7 separate regions of the Homo sapiens genome follow, and all the other regions are linked to region 5. Evidence: promoter capture Hi-C in human tissues and cell types (Jung and others, 2019). All regions are on one chromosome and are shown on one strand. The core of a region is centred on a gene start or on the middle of the fragment in contact, and the rest is flanking DNA. Distances in the headings are between cores, read along the strand shown. Region 1 overlaps SLC25A17 (solute carrier family 25 member 17). Region 2 has its middle 49 kb from the start of MIR4766. Region 3 has its middle 25 kb from the start of TNRC6B-DT. Region 4 overlaps GRAP2 (GRB2 related adaptor protein 2). Region 5 holds the start of SGSM3 (small G protein signaling modulator 3). Region 6 has its middle 33 kb from the start of MCHR1. Region 7 overlaps SLC25A17 (solute carrier family 25 member 17).

The links. The method cuts DNA at HindIII sites, captures the fragments that hold promoters and counts their contacts. A contact is called where the count stands out against the background at its distance.
Region 1: a contact is called between a fragment that was not itself captured here and the fragment with the promoter of SGSM3 in region 5, in 1 of the 25 tissues and cell types used here (dorsolateral prefrontal cortex).
Region 2: a contact is called between a fragment that was not itself captured here and the fragment with the promoter of SGSM3 in region 5, in 2 of the 25 tissues and cell types used here (aorta and dorsolateral prefrontal cortex).
Region 3: a fragment that was not itself captured here is called in contact with the fragment with the promoter of SGSM3 in region 5 in 1 of the 25 tissues and cell types used here (pancreas).
Region 4: a fragment that was not itself captured here is called in contact with the fragment with the promoter of SGSM3 in region 5 in 1 of the 25 tissues and cell types used here (dorsolateral prefrontal cortex).
Region 6: a fragment that was not itself captured here is called in contact with the fragment with the promoter of SGSM3 in region 5 in 1 of the 25 tissues and cell types used here (dorsolateral prefrontal cortex).
Region 7: a contact is called between a fragment that was not itself captured here and the fragment with the promoter of SGSM3 in region 5, in 1 of the 25 tissues and cell types used here (mesenchymal stem cells).

What each region holds. Positions count from the first base shown.
Region 1 is chr22:40,782,685-40,785,384 of GRCh38, forward strand. The region is part of intron 4 of SLC25A17 (solute carrier family 25 member 17); the gene reads right to left. Among named protein-coding and RNA genes, the nearest start is that of MIR4766, 30 kb to the right of the region's middle. The HindIII fragment of the contact is 3,487 bases long and covers 1-2,700 here.
Region 2 is chr22:40,763,500-40,766,199 of GRCh38, forward strand. No RefSeq gene overlaps it. Among named protein-coding and RNA genes, the nearest start is that of MIR4766, 49 kb to the right of the region's middle. RefSeq lists a silencer at 1,499-1,598. The HindIII fragment of the contact is 4,442 bases long and covers 1-2,700 here.
Region 3 is chr22:40,068,335-40,071,034 of GRCh38, forward strand. It overlaps a transcript of TNRC6B not described here. Among named protein-coding and RNA genes, the nearest start is that of TNRC6B-DT, 25 kb to the left of the region's middle. The HindIII fragment of the contact is 5,633 bases long and covers 1-2,700 here.
Region 4 is chr22:39,935,294-39,938,148 of GRCh38, forward strand. The region is part of intron 1 of GRAP2 (GRB2 related adaptor protein 2); the gene reads left to right. Among named protein-coding and RNA genes, the nearest start is that of TMA7B, 24 kb to the right of the region's middle. The HindIII fragment of the contact is 9,705 bases long and covers 1-2,855 here.
Region 5 is chr22:40,369,080-40,371,947 of GRCh38, forward strand. It overlaps SGSM3 (small G protein signaling modulator 3), which reads left to right and starts at 1,515. Exons shown (of 22, transcript NM_015705.6): 1 at 1,515-1,609. ADSL (adenylosuccinate lyase) reads left to right here. Exons shown (of 13, transcript NM_000026.4): 13 at 1-288. RefSeq lists an enhancer at 1,201-1,410 and silencers at 1,561-1,670, 1,731-1,900. The HindIII fragment of the contact is 4,461 bases long and covers 8-2,868 here.
Region 6 is chr22:40,710,758-40,713,620 of GRCh38, forward strand. No RefSeq gene overlaps it. Among named protein-coding and RNA genes, the nearest start is that of MCHR1, 33 kb to the left of the region's middle. RefSeq lists enhancers at 848-1,142, 1,166-1,682, 2,646-2,863 and a silencer at 956-1,075. The HindIII fragment of the contact is 3,262 bases long and covers 1-2,863 here.
Region 7 is chr22:40,801,007-40,803,872 of GRCh38, forward strand. All of the region lies in intron 1 of SLC25A17 (solute carrier family 25 member 17), which reads right to left. Among named protein-coding and RNA genes, the nearest start is that of MIR4766, 12 kb to the right of the region's middle. The HindIII fragment of the contact is 6,915 bases long and covers 1-2,866 here.

The sequences.
Region 1 (2,700 bases), core at 144-2,643, 410 kb after region 5:
GAAGGAATGAAACTTTACACACAACAGGAACAAACCTGTCTTGCCAGATTTAAGGCCAGAGGGCAGGAAATACATTTTGAACTATCACAACAATGATAATACCTTTGGCATTCAGTAAGAGTTATTGCTAAAAATTCCAATTTCATAAAAATAAGTGTCTCTTCATTTATCTGTTAAGGTTCTGTTCCCACATTATTCCCCAAGATATGAAGCTTTATAGGCTTGTTTTTCTGGGAAAATACAATAAATAATAAATTTCTAAGTTTCAAGAAGAATTTGAAGAGCAACAACGCTGTTCCTAGTTCTCCTTAGAGATGATACAACTCATTTCTACAGTGATTATAATACTCACAGCAGGAAGAAAGCTGTTATAATTATTATAAAAATATGTACATATTAAGATATAAAAACTTGTTATGAAGAGAAGTTTAAAACTCACAAAAGTAATTTTCAAGGAACTCTCAACCTTCAGAAAAAGAGAAGACCTACAATCAGAGAATCTCACAATTAACAAAGGATTGTAAAATTCTTTAACCCAGAGTCTCCCAACTGTGACAGTACTAATATTTTGGGGTGGAAAATTATTTGTTGTGTGTGTATGTGGGCTCTTGTGTAGGATGATTAGCAGTCTCCCTGGCCTCTACCCACTAGATGCCACATTTGACCCTGTGGGTCAAAATCAGCCTCAGTGGAGAACCACTAATCTAATCCAATCACCAAGTGATTATTCCTTTTATTCTTTACAATTTCAAAACACAGGAATTCACTTTCACACCTGTTTTATTCCATTAGCTGTTACAATTATTTATTTTATTTTATTTTGTTTTTTTGAGACATGGTCTTGCTGCAGCCTCCTACTCCTGGGCTTAAGTGATCCTCCCTCCTTAGCCTCCCAAGTAGCTGGGATTACAGGCACATGCCGGCTAATTTATTTTTAATTTTTTACCATTCCCAGCACTGAAGTTAAAATATGTAGAGACAGCTTTAACTTGACTTAACACCATACTATCTAAAATGGTACCTCTTTTTTTCTTTTTTGGAGATGGAGTCTCGCTCTATCTCCCAGGCTGGAGTGCAGTGGCTCGATCTCCGCTCACTGCAACCTCCGCCTCCTGGGTTCAAGTGATTCTCCTACCTCAGCCTCCCAAGTAGCTGGGATGATAGGTGCCCGCTACCACACCCAGTTAATTTTTGTATTTTTAGTAGACAGGGGGTTTCGCCATGTTGGCCAGGTTGGTCTCAAACTCCTGACCTCGGTAATCCACCTGCCTCGGCCTCTCAAAGTGTTGGGATTACAGGCATGAGCCACCGCGCCCGGCCAATGGTACCTCTTTCTAACCCTCAGTACTCTCTATCCCTTCTCTGCTTAAATTTTGTCTGTAACCTTATCCTCTAACATACTATGTATTTTCCTTGTTTATTGTCTATCTTACAATATTAGATTGTAAGCTTCATGAGGACAGAGATTTTCATTTTTTATTTACTGCCATATCCTTAGCATCTAGAACTGGATTTAGCACATACTAGACACCCAATATATATTTGATGAACAAACCATGATGAATAAATGGCTTGTGGGAAAGGGTATATACTTTTTCTTTATTGTCCAAGCGAACTAGGCCAGGATCACAATATATTTACTTATCCTAAAGTATACAAAAAGTCACTTTGGAATTGCTAACTCATACGTTTGCAGGGGGAGAAAACATATGTACTAAGTTTCATCTTTGTTTCTAGTTGCTTTAAGAAGGTAGATTTAATATCAATAAAAATAAATATTCTTTTTATTTTTTAAAATAAATATTCAGCTGGGAGCAGTGGCTAATACCTGTAATCCTAGCACTTTGGAAGGTCGAGGCAGAAGAATCTCTTGAGGCCAGGGGTTTGAAACCAGCCTGGGCAACACAGAAAGACCCCCATCTGTACAAAAAATAAAAAAAAATTAGCTGGGTGTGGTGGCATCCCTGTAGTCCTAGCTACTGGGGAGGCCGAGGCAGGGGGATCTCTTGAGCCCAGGAGTTGGAGGCTGCAGTGAACTATGACTGCACCACTGTACTCCAGTGCCCGGATGACAGAGCAAGACCCTATCTCAACAACAACAAAAAAAAAAAAAAAAAAAAAGAAAAGGAAAAAAAATAACCTTGAAGGTTTCTCAGTATATAGTGAACTATAACCTACCTGGATCTTGTGCCAATCATAGAGTTTCAGCCAATCACAGGCAGCCAACTGTTCAAATAAGGTAAACAAGTGGTAACTAATCTGGCTGTTTCTGTACCTCACTTCTGACTTCTATATGTCACTTTCCTTTTTCTGTCCATAAATATTCTACCATGTGACAGCTCCAGAGTCACTCTGACCTTCTGGTTCTGAGGGCTGCCCAATTTGCGAATTGTTCTTTGCTTGATCAAACTCTGTTAGGCCAGGCATGGTGGCTCACGCCTGTAATCCCAACACTTTAGGAGGCTGACGCAGGTGGATCACCTTAGGTCAGGAGTTCGAGATCAGCCTGGCCAACAGAGTGAAACCCCGTCTCTACTAAAAATACAAAAATTAGCTGGGCATGATGGCTTGCGCCTGTAGTCCCAGCTACTTGGGAGGCTGAGACAGGAAAATCTCTTGAACCTGGGAGGCGGAGGTTGCAGTGAGCGGAGATCGCGCCACTGCACTCCAGCCCGGGTGACAGAGTGAGACTCCTTCTCA
Region 2 (2,700 bases), core at 90-2,589, 390 kb after region 5:
AAAAAAAAAAAAAAAAAAGATTAAGATGGTATGCCATGTGTATTTTACCACACACACACACATGAAAATTAGGAGGGGAAAAAAAAACCTCATCTAGTCTCTGTACTAGTTTCCAAGTAAACATCTCTGTATTAATCAAGATAAATCCAAGTCCAGACCTTGATAATAACAAGAATTCACAGTAAGCCTAAACTGTTCTTCCTGGTCAGTCTTCATAAAGGTAAAATGAAACAATTAATGCTATGTCTCATTATTATTATTATTTTTTTTTTTTTTTTGAGGCAGGGTCTCACTCTGTCGCCTAGCCCTATGTCTAATTTTTAAAGTACATTTAAAATTAGCCAGGCATGGTGGCTCATGTCTGTACTCCCAGCACTTTGGGAGGCCAAAGTGGGAGGATTGCTTCAGTCCAGGAGTTTGAGACCAGCCTGGGCAACATAGTAAGACCCTATCTCTACAAAAATAAATGAAATAAAATTAGATTTAATTTGTTTTTTTTTGAGACAGTCTCACTCTGTCACCCAGGCTGGAGTGCAGTGGCATGATCTCACTGCAGCCTCTGCCTCCTGGGTTCCAGTGATTCTCCTGCCTCAGCCTTCCGAGTAGCTGGGATTACAGGTGCCTGCCACCAAATCTGCCTAGTTTTTGTATTTTTAGTAGAAATGGGGTTTCTCCATGTTGGCCAGGCTGGTCTCAAACTCCTGGCCTAAAGTGATCCCCCAGCCTTGGCCTCCAAAATTGCTGGGATTACAGGCGTGAGCCACCATGCCGGTTTTTTTGTTTTTGTTTTCTTTTTTTTTGAGACAGGGTCTCGTTCTGTCGCCCAGGCTGGAGTGCGGTGGTGCGACCATGGCTCATTGCAACCTCTGCCTCCTGGGTTCAGATGTTCCTCCCACCTCAGCCTCGCAAGTAGCTGGGACTATAGGCGTGCACTACCATGGCTGGCTAATTTTTGTATTTTTTGTAGAGGCAGAGTTTTGCCATGTTGGCCAGGCTGGTCTCAAACTCCTGGGCTCACGTGATCCACCAGCCTTGGCATCCCAACGTGCTAGGGTTACAGGCATGAGCCATGACACCCGGCCTACATTTTAAATTCTTAGAGTACAAGCACCTTATCTTCTTTCCCAAGTCTACATGTAGACATAACTGCTAAGTAGAATGGGGGTCCTAATCACCCCTCCTCCCTTGTTGAAGGCCCTCTGTGACCTGATGCTGTTTCTTCTCCTCCGCTTCAATATTTGTTCAACCCAGAGGTCCAGGTTGGAAAGCTTCTGGATCTAATTCAAACCAATGCACAAATAATAAAGTATCATCCTCTTCCTACTTTGCATATGCTATTTATTTCCTGTCGAGGTCCTCCACCCACTGCTTGGTGTATTTCTAGTTCAAATGTCACCGCCTGGCCCCACAGTTCAATACAGAGTTAGGTCCCACTTCCTCATGCTCTCAAAGCAACTCCTGAACATTTACAGCACATTTCTCATCAGAACTCATCAGCGGTACAATTTTAAGTTGTTTTTGTCTGACTCCCACGCTGAACAATGACATACATGAGGGCAGAGACTATTATTCATCTGTATAATCCCAGCAATCTGCATAGTGTTTGGATATGGCAGATAATCAAAAATGATTTCTTAAATGAATATAACCTTATTCTTAGAATAGGAATTTGCAATTTAAGAAGGTCCTCCATATGACACCCACACAGGGAACCACCTGCTGGATTGGCCATCCAATTTGCCAATGGGTTCTATAGAAACCACAGCAAAACAAGAATGAGGTGCACGTGACACAATTACATCAATAGTGCCCTTAGGGTAGATCATTTTGGTGACTCCAATTAAAGAATAAATGAAGATAAATAAATAAATACATTTCTAATTAAAGAAATAAATGAAGGTTACTTTTTTTTTGCGGGGGATGGAGTCTTGCTGTCACCCATGCTGGAGTGCAGTGGCATGATCTCGGCTCACTGCAGCCTCTGCCTCCTTGGTTCAAGCTATCCTCCCGCCTCAGCCTCCCAAGTAGCTGGGATTACAGGCGCCTGCCACCACACCGCTAATTTTTCTATTTTTAGTAGAGACAGGGTTTCACCATGTTGGTTGGGCTGGTCTTGAACTCCTGACCTCAGGTGATCTACCCACCTTGGCCTTCCAAAGTGCTGGGATTACAGGCGTGAGCCACTGCACCCGGCCTAGATGGCTTACTTTTAAGGACATCTGAAGAATGTAGTATGGCAGGGTAAAAAGAGCCTCAACTAGGAATCCCTACCCCTATTCATGAGGTGTGTGACTATAGATAAATTACCCTTTAAGCTTCAACTACTTCACCTGTTAATGGGAATAAACCCCATACGCTGGAGTTGTTACAAGGATATCAAGATGTACATAGGCCGGGCGCGGTGGCTCAAGCCTGTAATCCCAGCACTTTGGGAGGCCGAGGCGGGCGAATCATGAAGTCAGGAGTTCGAGACCATGATGTTCGAGACCAGGAGTTCGAGACTGGCTAACATGGTGAAGCCCCATCTCTACTAAAAATAGAAATAAATTAGCCGGGCGTGGTGGTGGGCACCTGTAGTCCCAGCTACTCAGAAGGCTGAGGCAGGAGAATGGCTTGAACCCGGGAGGCGGAGCTTGCAGTGAGCCGAGATCGCACCACTGCACTCCAGCCTGTGTGACAGAGCGAGACTCTGTCTCAAAG
Region 3 (2,700 bases), core at 62-2,561, 300 kb before region 5:
TGAGATGGAGTCTTACTCTGCTGCCCAGGCTGGAGTGCAGTGGCGCAATCTCGGGTCACTACAACCTCCGCCTCCTGGGTTCAGGTGATTGTCCTGCCTCAGCCTCCTGAGTAGCTGGGACTACAGGCACGCGCCACCATGCCCAGCCAATTTTTGTGTTTTTAATAGAGACGAGGTCTCACCATGTTGGCCAGGCTGGTCTCGAACTCCTAGCCTCAGGTGATCCTCCTGCCTTGGCCTCCTGAAGTGCTGGGATTACAGGCGTGAGCCACCGCGCCTGGCCTCTTGGTTTGTTCTTTATCTGGATGTTCTTGTTTAGTATCTTAGTAACTTTTCGTTGTCTTGTTTTCTTTTCATTTTCTTTCAATTCTGTGTTTTGTTTAAGTAAAAGGAAGGTTACAACAGGAAAATCTTCTTTTATTTTTTATTTCTACAGATGAGGTCTCGCCGTGTTGCCCAGGCTGGTCTCAAACTCCTGGCCTGAAGTAGTCCTCCCTGCCTCAGCCTCCTAAAATGCTGGGATTACAGGAATGAACCATTGCACCTTGCCAGATTTTTCTTTTAAATCCATATATATGAGGTGGACTTTTTACCTTGAAATTTGCATTGAAATTTTTAATTTTTATTTTTGATTAATTTAGAATTCCATACATACTATTTTTATGACCACATATTTTTCATGGAGAGTAAAAACCACACTTTAGTAAACAATAGTGTAAAGGTAGCATTATCCTTTGTTTCCAGGACCTAGCCACAAATTTGCTATGAAAGTTTTTTGTTTTTGAGACAGTATCTCGCTGTCTCGCCCAGGCTGTAGTGCAGGTACAATCATGCCCCACTGCATGCAGCCTCAAATTCGTGGGCTCAAGCAGCCCTCGCACCTCAGCCTCCTGAGTAGTTGGGATCACAGGTGCACACTACCAGGTTGACTGATATAAAATTTTTTTTTTTTGTAGAGCTGGGGTCTCCCTATGTTGTCCAGGCTGATCTCAAACTCCTGGGCTCAAGGGATCCTCCTACCTCACCCTCCCAAAGTGCTGGGATTACAGGTGTGAACTACTGCACCTGGCCTAAAAGTTGTTTTAAGGAATATTTTGTGTTATTTTTCAGTCTTTAGTTTCTTTGAGTATAACTTTGTAAGAGCTTTTTTTTTTTAATTTTTTTTTTTTTGAGATGGAGTTTCGCTCTCATTGCCCCAGCTGGAGTGCAATGGCGTGATCTCGGCTCACCGCAACCTCCGCCTCCTAGGTTCAGGCGATTCTCCTGCCTCAGCCTCCAGAGTATCTGGGATTACAGGCATGTGCCACCATGTCTGGCTAATTTTGTATTTTTAGTAGAGATGGGGTTTCTCCATGTTGGTCAGGCTGGTCTTGAACTCCCAACCTCAGGTGATCCACCCACCTCGGCCTCCCAAAAGTGCTGGGATTACAGGCCTGAGGCACTGCGCCCGGCCGAGAGCTTCTTTTAGACAGAAATAATTAGGGGTTCTTTTCTATACCACACATTTATTAAAAGAGATTTTCACGGCTATCAGTTATGAAATGAGGTTCCTATTTGGCTGGAGTGTTTCTGGCATGTTAGTTGTGTTGTAGGAGGTGGGGAGTTGGGAGGATTGGTGTATATTAAAAGAAAAAATTTTAACTAATTATGTTTTATGTAGGTACAAGTGTTGTATTTATGTTTATTAAAGTGTTCATTCTGTGCCTATTTTTTCGTATCTTCTAAAATACCCTTCATTGTAATTAATTATAGGTTGTTAGTTTTATGTCTTAGTTCTTGCTTTAATCTGGCTTTATAGTTTTTTTCTCTAAGAGAGACATTTGAGTTTTGCGTGTTCCGTGTGCCTTTGTCATTTATTCGTATAATAAAATCGATAAGTAACTGGGCTAAAGTATATAATTTTCATTTCTTGTAGCTGTTCTATTACTTGACTTTTATTTTGTGATTTAGTAACTTCTTGGATTTTGTGACTTTTTATTTGATTTGATTCTTTTAATGACTTAAATTGGGATTTATTAACTTTTGAAATTAATGTTCTTTGATACATCAGAAAATCTCATGCTGTTTTTCTTTAAACATAAAAAGAAAGGGTGAAGCTCGTTGACAGAGATCTGCTTTTTTAACTTTGTCTTCACTCCATTCTGATACCATCTGCTAAAGGCTGATTTCAGTGTTTCCTTCAGAAAGAAGTTAAAATAAGACTTAATGTTGAAGTGGAATAAAATATTGTAACTAATAATACAGTTATATCTTTATAGATATTCAAAGTAGAATATTTTAAGTTTGAGGAAAAGAATTAGTTCAAATTAATTTACAGGTATTTTAAGAAAAAAATGGTATATTTCAGGAAGGTTGACAGGATCATTTTAATAAAAACTCATTTTTAGGTTCACAATTCCTTATCAGAAACTCTTAAGGGCCAGATGTATTTTATAGCTCAGATTTTTTTTTTTTTGAAAACTAATAAGATGCACTTACCATATGTTATACAATGCCCCTGCAGGGTCAGAGGCAGCACTTCAGAGTCAAATACATTAGTATTTCAGCAGCCAAAGCTATGACTAAAGTCTAAAGTGGGTAGACTATAAATAGTTTCATGTCAGTTCAGGTCAGACCTTGCCACCAATTAAATTCCCATCAGGTTTCACCACCAATGAATTCCAGAAAAGTTTTGGTTTTCAGAAGTTTTTGGATTTTGGA
Region 4 (2,855 bases), core at 321-2,820, 430 kb before region 5:
GTCAGCTCACTCCAATCCCAGCCGTCCCCGATGCCCATTGTCTATCATCTCAATGAATTAGGGAAAAAGACTGACTTTCTGGGCCACTTCCAACTTTGAGAATCTAGGATAGGGGCACTATTTAATCAAAACTGGCAAGTAAAAAGAAAGAGAACTATTTTAAACAAGACAAATACAAGAGGTGTTGAACCAAACTCAAATTAGAAAGAACAAAATTTCCCAAAAATAAGAATATTATAATTCATTTGATGAAAGGAATTTGCCATATTATCCCTTTTACTGGCATTTTTTTAGTACCTTTACTTGTAAAAATGTCAGGCCCTCCCACTTTTCTGGGATAGACTTATCGAATGAAGCAAGGGGAGCTTCTCTATGGATAGATGATCACTTTTGCAAGCTTTGAGATCAGTGAGCTGAAAAAATGACCAGCATTCCAACAACAAATGAGGGCTTGGGAGCGTAAGTAAAAGTGACAGCAAGATTAAAGTAATTGTGGTCATGCCGTCCTCTGCTGACACTTTTGTGTTTTGCCCAGATGAGAATTAAGGTAGCCCAGGGCACAGGCAGTGAGGAAAAGGAGAGGGGCGCTGAGCGTATTTGCAGCATTTGTGAACCATGTCACAGCCCTGGCGAAAACAGAGCAAGAAGATGGAGGCTTTCAAATCCATGATAAATAAGCCATGCTTTCAGAGCCCAAATCAGTAAAAACAAACATTAAGTGAACAGAAGGGAAGAGGGAAAAAAAGAGAACATGAGGCCACCATAAAATCCTGGTGATATATTCCAGGGGAAATCATGATGTGAATAGAAAATGAGAAGTAAAAGAAAATGAAGCCTGGAGATTTGTAAAATGTCTGTCTGTCTGTCTGTCTCTCTCGACTGTCATTCCCATCTACCCCTGCCACCCCCACCCCGCCCTCCACCCTTCTGATGGGGTTCATTAGATGATTTCTGATTCAGGGGTGGGGGGCGGTATTTTTAATGCTTCACTTATGTTTGGGTTTTGCCAGCAGGATCCGAGGTGTTTCTGTAGACAATTGTTATTGCTTTAGGAAACAATAAGAATAAAATGAGGAAACATCAAGTGATACATCAGTCTAGCAGCAGAGTGAGGCTCGAAGTAGCATTTCCAGCGAGGTTGGTGGTCTCTTTTTGCCTTATTTTTGTTGTTTTGGATTGATGTTTTCATGGTGTCATTTTAATAAGAAAAGTGTCAGAGAATTAAAAGTGGAAGTATGCGAGATACACTTTCTCTAACTGGATTCATGGTAAGTTATTAATGTTTCAAGGAGAAAGAAAAGAACTTGGAAAAAGCAGAATATATTGTGGGGAAAGTTGATGAAGGGAAAGGTAAGAGAACTGTGACAAATGAGACACAGACAGAAGGAGAGAGAGAGAAAGAGGAAGAGAGAGAGACAGGGTGGTGGGGGGGACCGGCAGAAGAAAAGGAAAAGAGCGACAGTTTGTAAGTCTATTAGCTGAGATTGTTTCCATTTCTGCAATTGCCTTAAAGCGCATGATTGCTTGGTCTGAGGTCTGCCAGGTCGATTGCAGTCTTTACCTCTTTGACCAAGAAGTAATGGGCTTGAATTTCCTGGGTATGTGAAAATTGCTCTTGAATGTTTTGGCTAAAGGACAGCCACCCAGGAAGGTTGAGAGGGCCTAAGCTAGTGAGCAGTCATCCTGACCAAGTAGGAGGGATTTGGTTATGTTGCTCGTAGCAGGAGAGGCAGAGCAGCAAAGTGAAGAGAACACACAGCCTTAGGTGCCAACAGACATGTACTGAAATCTCTTGCCTCCATTTCCCACCTCTAAAATGCAAAGGATGATAGTAACAATAATAAATGTTGCAACGGGTGACCGATTATAAAGTTCTTGTCACCTGATAGACCATATCAATCCATGGTAACTTATTCTTAGCTGGTTCACGTTTCTAGGCATTGGCACAGTCTGGGTGGTGTGTGTCCCCTCAAAGGTAGCATCACAGTGACTGAGCTCTGCATAGATGGCAAAGTGTAGAAGCCTGGTCAGTTTTCTGTTTCTCCATCCACCATTTCTCCCCACTTCCCCTTGGTTAGTGCTGTCTTCTCTCTTTCCTCACTGAATTGTCTTGATTAGTGTCATACTTTCTGATAACACTGCAGCTAGGACTCCACAGGCAATAGGGAGAAGCTAGCGCCTGCCCAGGGAAAGTGAGGAAAAATAGGTGCTTGAGAGGCTGAAAAGTAGTATACGCTTGGTGGCCTTACACTTTGTAGAAACAGTTTTGGATTTGTCTCTACAAGAAAGGATTGTAGATAACCAGAATGCAAAAATGCTTTGAAGAAAGAGACATTGAGCATTGGAACCAAGTATTCTACGTCCTCTTCCCTGCAACACTGGGGACTAAGGATTATTATCTGCATTTCTGGTGAAGAAACTGAGGCACAGAGAAGATAAACTATGGTTCTCCGGCTACAAAGTAAGCAGCAGAGCCTAGAGTTTGAAGCCAGGTCTGACACCTAAGTCCCGTAGTAAACCTCCCACTGAGGTAGGCAAGCCTCGCCTTGCAGAGAGTGGCAAATTAGGGAAAAAAGAATCAAATGTGCTTGAGTTTAACAGAACATATACATTATACTTAAAGAGAAAGATACTTTTCTTACAAAAAGTTTGAGGACAAATGAGACTTCATGTGATGCGTCTTGCACTAAAAAAAAAAAGTTAGATTATATAAGCCAGACTGGCGTTGATTAAAGAAGAGCAAGGTAATAAATACGCATAAGAAGAAGGAAGTGGCTGGCTCTACCTTGGGCATCACCCAAGTTACAGGCAGGGGAGGGGATAGGCCCTGCATGGGGACAGTCTCCTGACTTGTC
Region 5 (2,868 bases), core at 265-2,764:
ATATTACATAACAGATACTGGGGATATAGGATACCATGGATTTTAGTTAATACATTTCCTCATAGAAAATAAGGAAATAACAGTCTTGTTCCTGTCCTAACAATTCTGTTAGACTAATGATCTCCAGTGATTGGCGATTTGACCTGGTTTCTTCCTGGACTATTTGAATGGGTGGATTTGTTGGTGCATCTCTTGTCTTCTTTCCTTTTCCATTCTCCTTTATTTTTGTATTTACATACTTGTATGCAACTTTGTAATCTGATTTTCCCATGTAACATTTTAATTTGATGGGTGGTCTGCGTGTTCACTGGAAAACATATATATATTAAATGTACATTTATGTATATATATAAAATATACATTCATATATATTATATATAATATACATTCATATATATTATATATAATATACATTCATATATCTATCTTTTATATATATATATAGACAAGATCTTGCTCTGTCGCCCAAGCTGGAGTGCAGTGGCATGACCACAGTTCACTGCAGCCTTGATTTCCTGGGCTCAAGCGATCCTCTCACCTCAGCCTCTTGAGTAGCTGGGACTATGGCACACACAACCACACGTGGTTCATTTTTTGTTGTTTTTTGTAGAGACAGGGTCTCACTCTGTTAACCCAGGCTGTTGTATTTTCTTTAAGATTGGTTTAAATTCACACGGACTCCAGCATCAGAACTACCCAGATGTCAGGTTCTGGGCAGAACTTGGGGCAACTGATGAAATGTCTGCTCAGCTGAAGTCAGACACCTGGACACTTAATGCCCTCTTTCCCTGGCTGATGCTCAGTTTCATTTAAGAACCAGGAGAGCCTGATGTTTGTAAACACAGCTTTAGTGGAAGCACGAGGGTTAGGAGTCCCTAGAAAGGTGATATGAAGCCTAGGTGGATGTGAGGGTTGGTGAGATGGGAATTGCACAGCATAGAATCTGACACAGAAGGTACTCAGAAAATTTCGTTTTCCGGCCTGGCGCGGTGGCTCACGCCTGTAATCCCAGCACTTTGGGAGGCTGAAGCGGGCAGATCATCTGAGGTCAGGAGTTCGAGACCAGCCTGGCCAACATGGTGAAACCCCGTCTCTACTAAAAATACTGTACTAAAAATACAAAAAAATTAGCTGGGCGTGGTGGCGGGCGCCTGTAATCCCAGCTACTCGGGAGGCTGAGGCAGAGAACTGATTGAACCTGGGAGGTGGAGGTTGCAGTGAGCCGAGATCACGCCACTGCACTTCAGCCTGGGTGACAGAGCGAGACTCCATCTCAAAAAAAAAAAAAAAAAAAAATTAGCAAGTTATTTGCAGCGTCTATCTCCCACCACCCTGACTGCTGGTCCACACCATACTGTCCCAAGCTTCTCAGGCTGCGGTGCAGACGAAGAAATCATCGCTATGCATGCTGGCCTTGGGATGGGGGCGCAAAGCCCCTGGACGCGCCCCGCCTAGTGGGCGGGAACGACTACAGCCCCCAGCATGACCCGCGGCCGCCCATGCCACGCCCCGCCACGCGTGCGCTTAGGCGCCGCTGAGCGCTGACTGGGTGCGAGTGGGGAAGCTGCTAACCCGACCCGGATTGGCGCTGAGGTGGCCCGTGGGGCAGGTGAGTGCGGGGCGGGAGTCAGCGGAGACCCACCGGCGCCTACAAGTTCCCCTCAGGCGGGGGCTGCGGGGCGGCTGTGGTCGGACTGTCCGACCGAGGGTCGTATGGGCCGAAGGCGCCCACGAGAGAAGCACCGCCTCGGGCCGGAGAGCCGCCGGGCCGACCTTGCTCGCGTCGCCGTTGGAATGGGGGCCGGGGACGCGGCGGGGCGGGGAGGTCGGCTGCGTCCTCCGGTGCGGCCGCCCCTAGACGGCCGAGGCCACCTCAGGTGTTCGGGGCGCCAGCCGGAATCCACCGCGCTGGCAGCCGGGAGCGGTTTTACGAAAACCGCGCCTGAGGCGGGGGGCTTTCTAAAAAGAGCCTGGCTGGCTCTGGCACCGGGACAGCTGCAGACTCCTCCTCAGGTTTAACTTGCGGTTTTCCCTTTAAGATTCAGATCCAGGTGCAGAACCCGGGCTCGGATCCAGGCCCGAGACTCGGAACACCGGTGTGTTTGCATTTTAGCACGGGGGAAACTGAGGCATACGTTAGCCAGAATCATCCGGTGTGGTTAGGACTGGAATTTTGAAAATTATTCTCATACTTAGTTTACTGACCTAGGCTCTTTTTTATTTGGAAAGAAAAATAAAGATGTTTCAAAGGTTGTTTTCAGTGACTGGGTGACTAGTGTATCTTCCAGTCTCACGCTGCACGTTTGTGGTGGGTTGATGGCTCTTTTTTGTTTTGCGGTGGGATAGAGATGTCCTGGAATGTTCTACACCTTTCTTATTCTTTCTTAGTAAATTCAAGTCAAATCAGACTCTGATTCACAAAAACTCATTTTCAACTTCGACTCGTTTACTCGTAGTTTTTGTGACAGGTTTGTGATTAGGTTTATAGGTACATATGTTTCCCGCTTTTCTTGCTCTTTTAGTTCCAATTATCTCTGCACTCTAAACAGTTGAATTACATCTTTGTTTTTACACTATTTCTGTTCTTGGTGATTAATTTGTAATTCTTCTTTTCTTTTCTTTTCTATTTTTTTTTTAAGACGGGAGTTTCGCTCTTGCCCGGGCTGGAGTGCAATGACATGATCTCGGCTCACTGCAAGCTCCGCCTCCCGGATTCAAGTGATTCTCCTGCCTCAGCCTACCGAGTAGCTGGGATTACAGGCGCCCGCCACCACGCCCGGCTAATTTGTGTATTTTTAATAGAGACGGGGTTTTTCGCCATGTTGGCCAGGCTGGTCTCGAACTCCTGACCACAGGTGATCCGCCCGT
Region 6 (2,863 bases), core at 223-2,722, 340 kb after region 5:
CTGTGTCCAGCAATCAAGAGGACAGGAAGTAACAATGAGCTGGGAAATGACTGCACAGGTGAGCCTGGGCCCCACACTTGGCTCCCCACGGCCACAGGGCATCCTGAAATCCCTCCAGGATCTGACCAGGGGACTTGCAAGAGCTGAAGGGCCTTGAGATTCCCAGAGTGTCAGGGCAGGAAAAAGAGACCAGTATATGTGCAGACCTCACAACAGGAACTCAGCCATGAGGACTCACCGGGCAGGGAGTGTCAGCAGGGCACTCCAAAAGGCCCACATGGGGGCTGGGCACAGTGGCTCACGCCTGTAATGCCAGCACTTTAGGAGGCTGAGGCAGAAGGATCGCTTGAGCTCAGGAGTTCAAGACCAGCCTGGACAACATAGTGAGAGCCAACCCCTACAAACAAATTTTTTTTTTTTTTTTTAGACAGAGTTTTGCTCTTATTGCCCAGGCTGGAGTGTAATGGGGCAATCTTGGCTCACTGTAACCTTCGCCTTCTGGGTTCAAGCAATTCTCCTGCCTCAGCCTCCTGGGTAGCTAGGATTACAGGCATGCGCCACCACGCCCGGCTAATTTTTTATTTTTAGTAGAGATGGGGTTTCACCAGATTAGCCAGGCTAGTCTTGAACTGCTGACCTCAGGTGATCCACCCACCTCGGCCTCCCAAAGTGCTGGGATTACAGGCATGAGCCACCACACCCAGCCTCCAAAAAAAATTTTTTTTAATTAGCTGAATGTGAAAAAAAAATTAGCTGAATGTGGTGGCGTGTGGCGTGTGGCTGTGGTCCCAGCTACTTGGGAGGCTGAGGCAGGAGGATCACTTGAACCCAGGATACTGAGGTCACAGTGAGCTATGATCGTACTACTGCACTGTAGCCTGGGTGACAGAGCGAGACTCCATCTCAAACAAAACAGAACAAAAAAACCAAGTATTTACAGAGACATGAGTCATCGAGAGGCTATCTAAACCGAGATAAGCTGCAGTGCAGTGATGACAGTTTCTTTCCACTTCCCCGGAGGGGCTCATGGCTCAGCAGATCAGCTGCAGGAAAGAGAGAAACATCGTCTCTCCGTGCGCCTTTCCTTGTATATTAATCTGCGATCCTGCTACACATGCCACTGTCAGTCAGGCCATGCTACGAAGCCTGGGGAGAACAGGGCAAGATTTCCGAGGCCTGGCCGGAGGCAACAGGCACATAGAAAAGGGGTATGGGGTCCGGAAGGTGCAGAGTAAATGTGTGCGTGGGGCAAGATTCCCCCAGGGATGGCTACAGGCACAGTTGCCTCTAGGATGGGATGTAGAGAAATCAAATTCAAGGGTACAAGTAAATATCTTTATATACCCTGGGGGCGACAGAAGGAAGCTTTTTGTGGGAGAACCCAGAAAAGAGAGCTCAGAAGGAGAAAAGTCTCCTAAGCTGCTGGGTAGAGACGGGCTGTTTGAGGTTTTTTTTTTTTTTTTTGAGACAAAGTCTTGCTCTATCACCCAGGCTGGAGTGCAGTGGCACGATCTCTGCTCACTGCAATCTCTGCCTCCCAGGTTCAAGTGATTCTCTTGCCTCAGCCTCCCGAGTAGCTACAGTTACAGGAGTTGGCCGCCATACTCGGGTAATTTTTTTGTACTTTTAGTAGAGATGGGATTTCATCACATTAGCCAGGCTGGTCTCGAACTCCTGACCTCAAGTGATCCTTACACCCCGGCCTCCCAAAGTGTGAGAATTACAGGTATGAGCCACTGCGCCTGGCCTGGGCTGGTTGAGTTTAATACAAAAGTCAAGGATCCTTCTCCTCGGTTCACTTAGTCCTCCCCACGGCCCTCGGCGTTTGGCATTCTCTCTTTTTTTCTTTTTCTTTTTTTTTTTTTTTTTGAGACAGGGTCTTGCTCTGTTGCCCAGGCTGGATTGGAGTACAGTTCGTCATCATGGCTTACTACCTCCCCGGCTCAAGTGATCCTCCCACCTCGGCCTCCTGAGTAGCCAGGACCACAGGCATGTGCCACCATGTCTGGCTAATTTTGTTTATTTTTTTGTAGAGATGTGGTCTTGCCATGTTGCCCAGGCTGTCCTCGAACTCCTGGGCTCAAGGAGTTCCACCCACCTCAGTCTCCCAAAGTGCTGGGATTATAGGCGTGAGCCACCACCCCTGGCAGTCCTCAGCATTCTTCAAACAAAACTAGGGCTGGGCATGGTGGCTCATGCCTGTAATCCCAGCTCTTTGGGAGGCTGAGGTGGGAGGATCTCTTGAGCCCAGGAGTTCAAGACTAGCCTCGGCAACATAGTGAGACCCTGTCTTTACAAGAACAAAACACAAAACAACAGAGTCGCTGTTTTCCCTCAATTCTATAGCAAGGACGAAATCAGGGAGTCCACAGGGCGCATGGATTTGAACCTGGGTCTATCTGGCTCCGCACTATGCTTTCCCTGCTATATCCCACTACCTGATTGAAGGAGAGAGATGGGACTTCTGAGGACAAGGGAACCTTCAGGTGAGGCTGGAGGTCAAGTCCCTAAAGACTTCCTTGCTTAGGGGGAGATTTAATGATTGGCCGCCATCATCTCAAGAGAAGAGACGATCCCTCTCCTGCCTGGTTTGCTTGACCGAACAACCTCACTGTGGAAGGTAGTGGTGAAGGGACACCACCTTGAGATGAGGTGGACCTGGGTTCATATTCCTGCACTGAGATCTTAGGCAAAACACTTAAGCTTGTGGAGCCTTAGATTTCATTCTTATAAAAATGGGATAACAATTTCCACCTTACTAAGCCGTGAAAAGCATTACATGAAGGGGAATGTAAATTGTGTGCCTACCACAGAGCCCGATACAGAGAACAGGTGAAAAGAACTGAATTTAACTCTACCTACC
Region 7 (2,866 bases), core at 306-2,805, 430 kb after region 5:
GGCAGGGGAATTGCTTGAACCAGGGAGATGGAGGTTGCAGTGAGCCGCGATCATGCCACTGCACTCCAGCCTGGGCAAAAGAGACTCTGTCTCAAAAAAGAAAAAAGAAAAAAATATATTACATATATATATATATATATATATATATATATATATATATATGTAAATGATAAATAACTAGGAGCTAGGTCAACTTAAATAAGAAAATTTGGTAGGCCTATTATCAATTTAAATAGGTCAGCCTCCATGACAAGGGAGAATACTCTAATATTTGTATTCTTCAAAACACATATTGTTACCTCTCCCCGCCTATCAGCTTACAATTGGTTGTTCAGTCCTCTAGGGTGCCATTAGCACTTATTTATGGCTCTTTCAGCACATATACTACAGTGAAATCCAACTCTTCTGCTAATTTGTGAGAGCATTCTTTCTATATCTGTGCACATCCTAGATTCTCAATTAAACATTTATTCAATTCACTGTACTTTCACTTATTTATGCTTTTTTGATGACCCCAACATAACTGTTCTTTTCTAGTCATGATAAATGATTAAATGATACTCAATGTTTCAAGAAATGACACTCAACGACTAAATGATATTCAATGTCTCACAAAACACTGAACCCACAAAGCTTTACAAATCCTACAAATCCATGCATCCAGCATCCTTGCTCATCTTCAGGAGGCAATTTCCAAGAAAAATGGGAGCTGGAAAGTTAGAGAAAGCTTATTAAGTTTATTAAGGCTCTGGCACTCATTTTCTATCGCATGGTACTGCATTTCTTTTCTTTTCTTTTTTTAAGACGGAGTCTTGCTCTTGTTGCCCAGACTGGAGGGCAATGGCGGGATTTCGGCTCACTGCAACCTCCACCTCTTGGATTCAAGCGATTCTCCTGTCTCAGCCTCCCGAGTAGCTGGGATTAAGGGCGCCCGCCTCCATGCCCAGCTAATTTTTTGTATTTTTAGTGGAGACGGGGTTTCATCATGTTGGCCAGGCTGGTCTCGAACTCCTGACCTCAGGTGATCCACCCGCCTCGGCCTCCCAAAATGCTGGGATTACAGGCGTGAGCCACCGTGCCTGGCCGGTACTGCATTTCTTTGAAGGGTACTGCATAGACAGGGCATCTCCAGACAGAAAAAGTCTAGCCTGGAAGCTACCTCTTCAAACACTGGGCCACCTTCATCCCTCTTTTCTGCCAGCTTTAAATAGACACGTGAAGGTTCCTAAACATAGAAGTCCTTGCCTACCTATCTGGATATCTTGAAGTGAAACACCAAGATAAAGAGAACAGTCAGCCCAAACAGCTCATTGGTCTATTACTACCTCAAGAACTGGCATATGAAAATTCAAATCAGGCCAGGCACGTTGGCTCAAGCCTGTAATCCCAGCACTTTGGGAAGCCGAGGCAGATGGGTCACCTGAGGTCAGGAGTTCGAGACCAGCCTGGCCAACATGGTGAAACTCCCCCTCTACTAAAAATACAAAACTTAGCCAGGCGTGGTGGTGGGCACCTGTAATCCCAGCTACTTGGGAGGCTGAGGCAAGAGAATCACTTGAACCCGGGAGGCGGAGGTTGCAGTGAGCCAAGATCGTGCCACTGCACTCCAGCCTGGACAACAAGAGGGAAACTCCTTCTCAAAAAAAAAGAAAATTCAAATGAGTAACACCAAGTAACAGTTTTATAAATTTAGTAGCACTGGAAAGACTGGATCAAGAGGGTTAGCTGAAAACCCACCACTGCCTCCTCCCTACTCCAATGATTAATAATGAGAACAGATTTTTATATAAAAGGACTATATAGAAAAACAAAAAGGGGTCTAATTGGTAGATGAGAATTAAAAGAATACCACAGTGAGACATTTCAAAATTTATTTATTTATAAGTGCCATGTAATAATTGTACATGTTTATAGGGTGCAGTGTAGTGTTTCAATGCATGTACACACTGTATAATGATCAAACTGGGGTAATTACCACACCCATTACTTTAAACATCATTTCTTTGTGGTGATAATATCGGAAATCTTCTCTTCTAGCTATCCTGAAATACGCACGACATTGTTATTTGCTATCGTCACCATAGTTTGTAATAGAACACCAGAACTTATTCATGTCTAACTTTTTCTTCTTTTAAAGAGATGGGGTCTCCCTGTGTTGCCCAAGTTGGCCTTGAACTCCTGGGTTCAGGCGATCCTCCTGCCTCAGATTCCCGAGTAGCTGGAACTGCAGCCCTGTGCCACCACAGTACCTGACTTAAATGAAACTTTGTACCCTTTAACTAACCTCTCCTGGTCCCCCTCTCCTTCCTACCATCTCTAGCCCCTGGTAACCACTATTCTACTCTCTACTTCTATAAAATCAATTTTTTTAGATTCTACTTATGAGTAAGATCATGTGATGTTTGTTCTGTGCCTGGCTTACTTCACTTAACATAATATTTATTGTCCAGGTTCATCCATGTCACCACAAATGGCAGGATTTCATTCTGTTTTACAGCTGAATAAAATTCCCATTGGTATATTTACATTTTTCTTATCCATTCATCTGTAGATAAGCATTGATTCCACATTTTTTCTACTGTGAATAGCACTGCAATTAACACAGATATGCAGAGGTCTCTTTGACACGCTGATTTCATTTCCTTTGGATATATACCCAGTAATGGGATTGCTGGATCATATGGTAGTTCTATTTTTAATTTTTTGAGGAACCTCCATAATGTTTCCATAATGGCTGTACCAATTTACATTCCCATCAACAGTGTGCAAGAGTTCCCTTTTCTCAGTATCCTCACCAGCATTTGCTAGTTTTTGTTTTTTTTTTTTTTTTAATGGCTAAGTTGGAAAGTGGCTCACCGTATGCTAC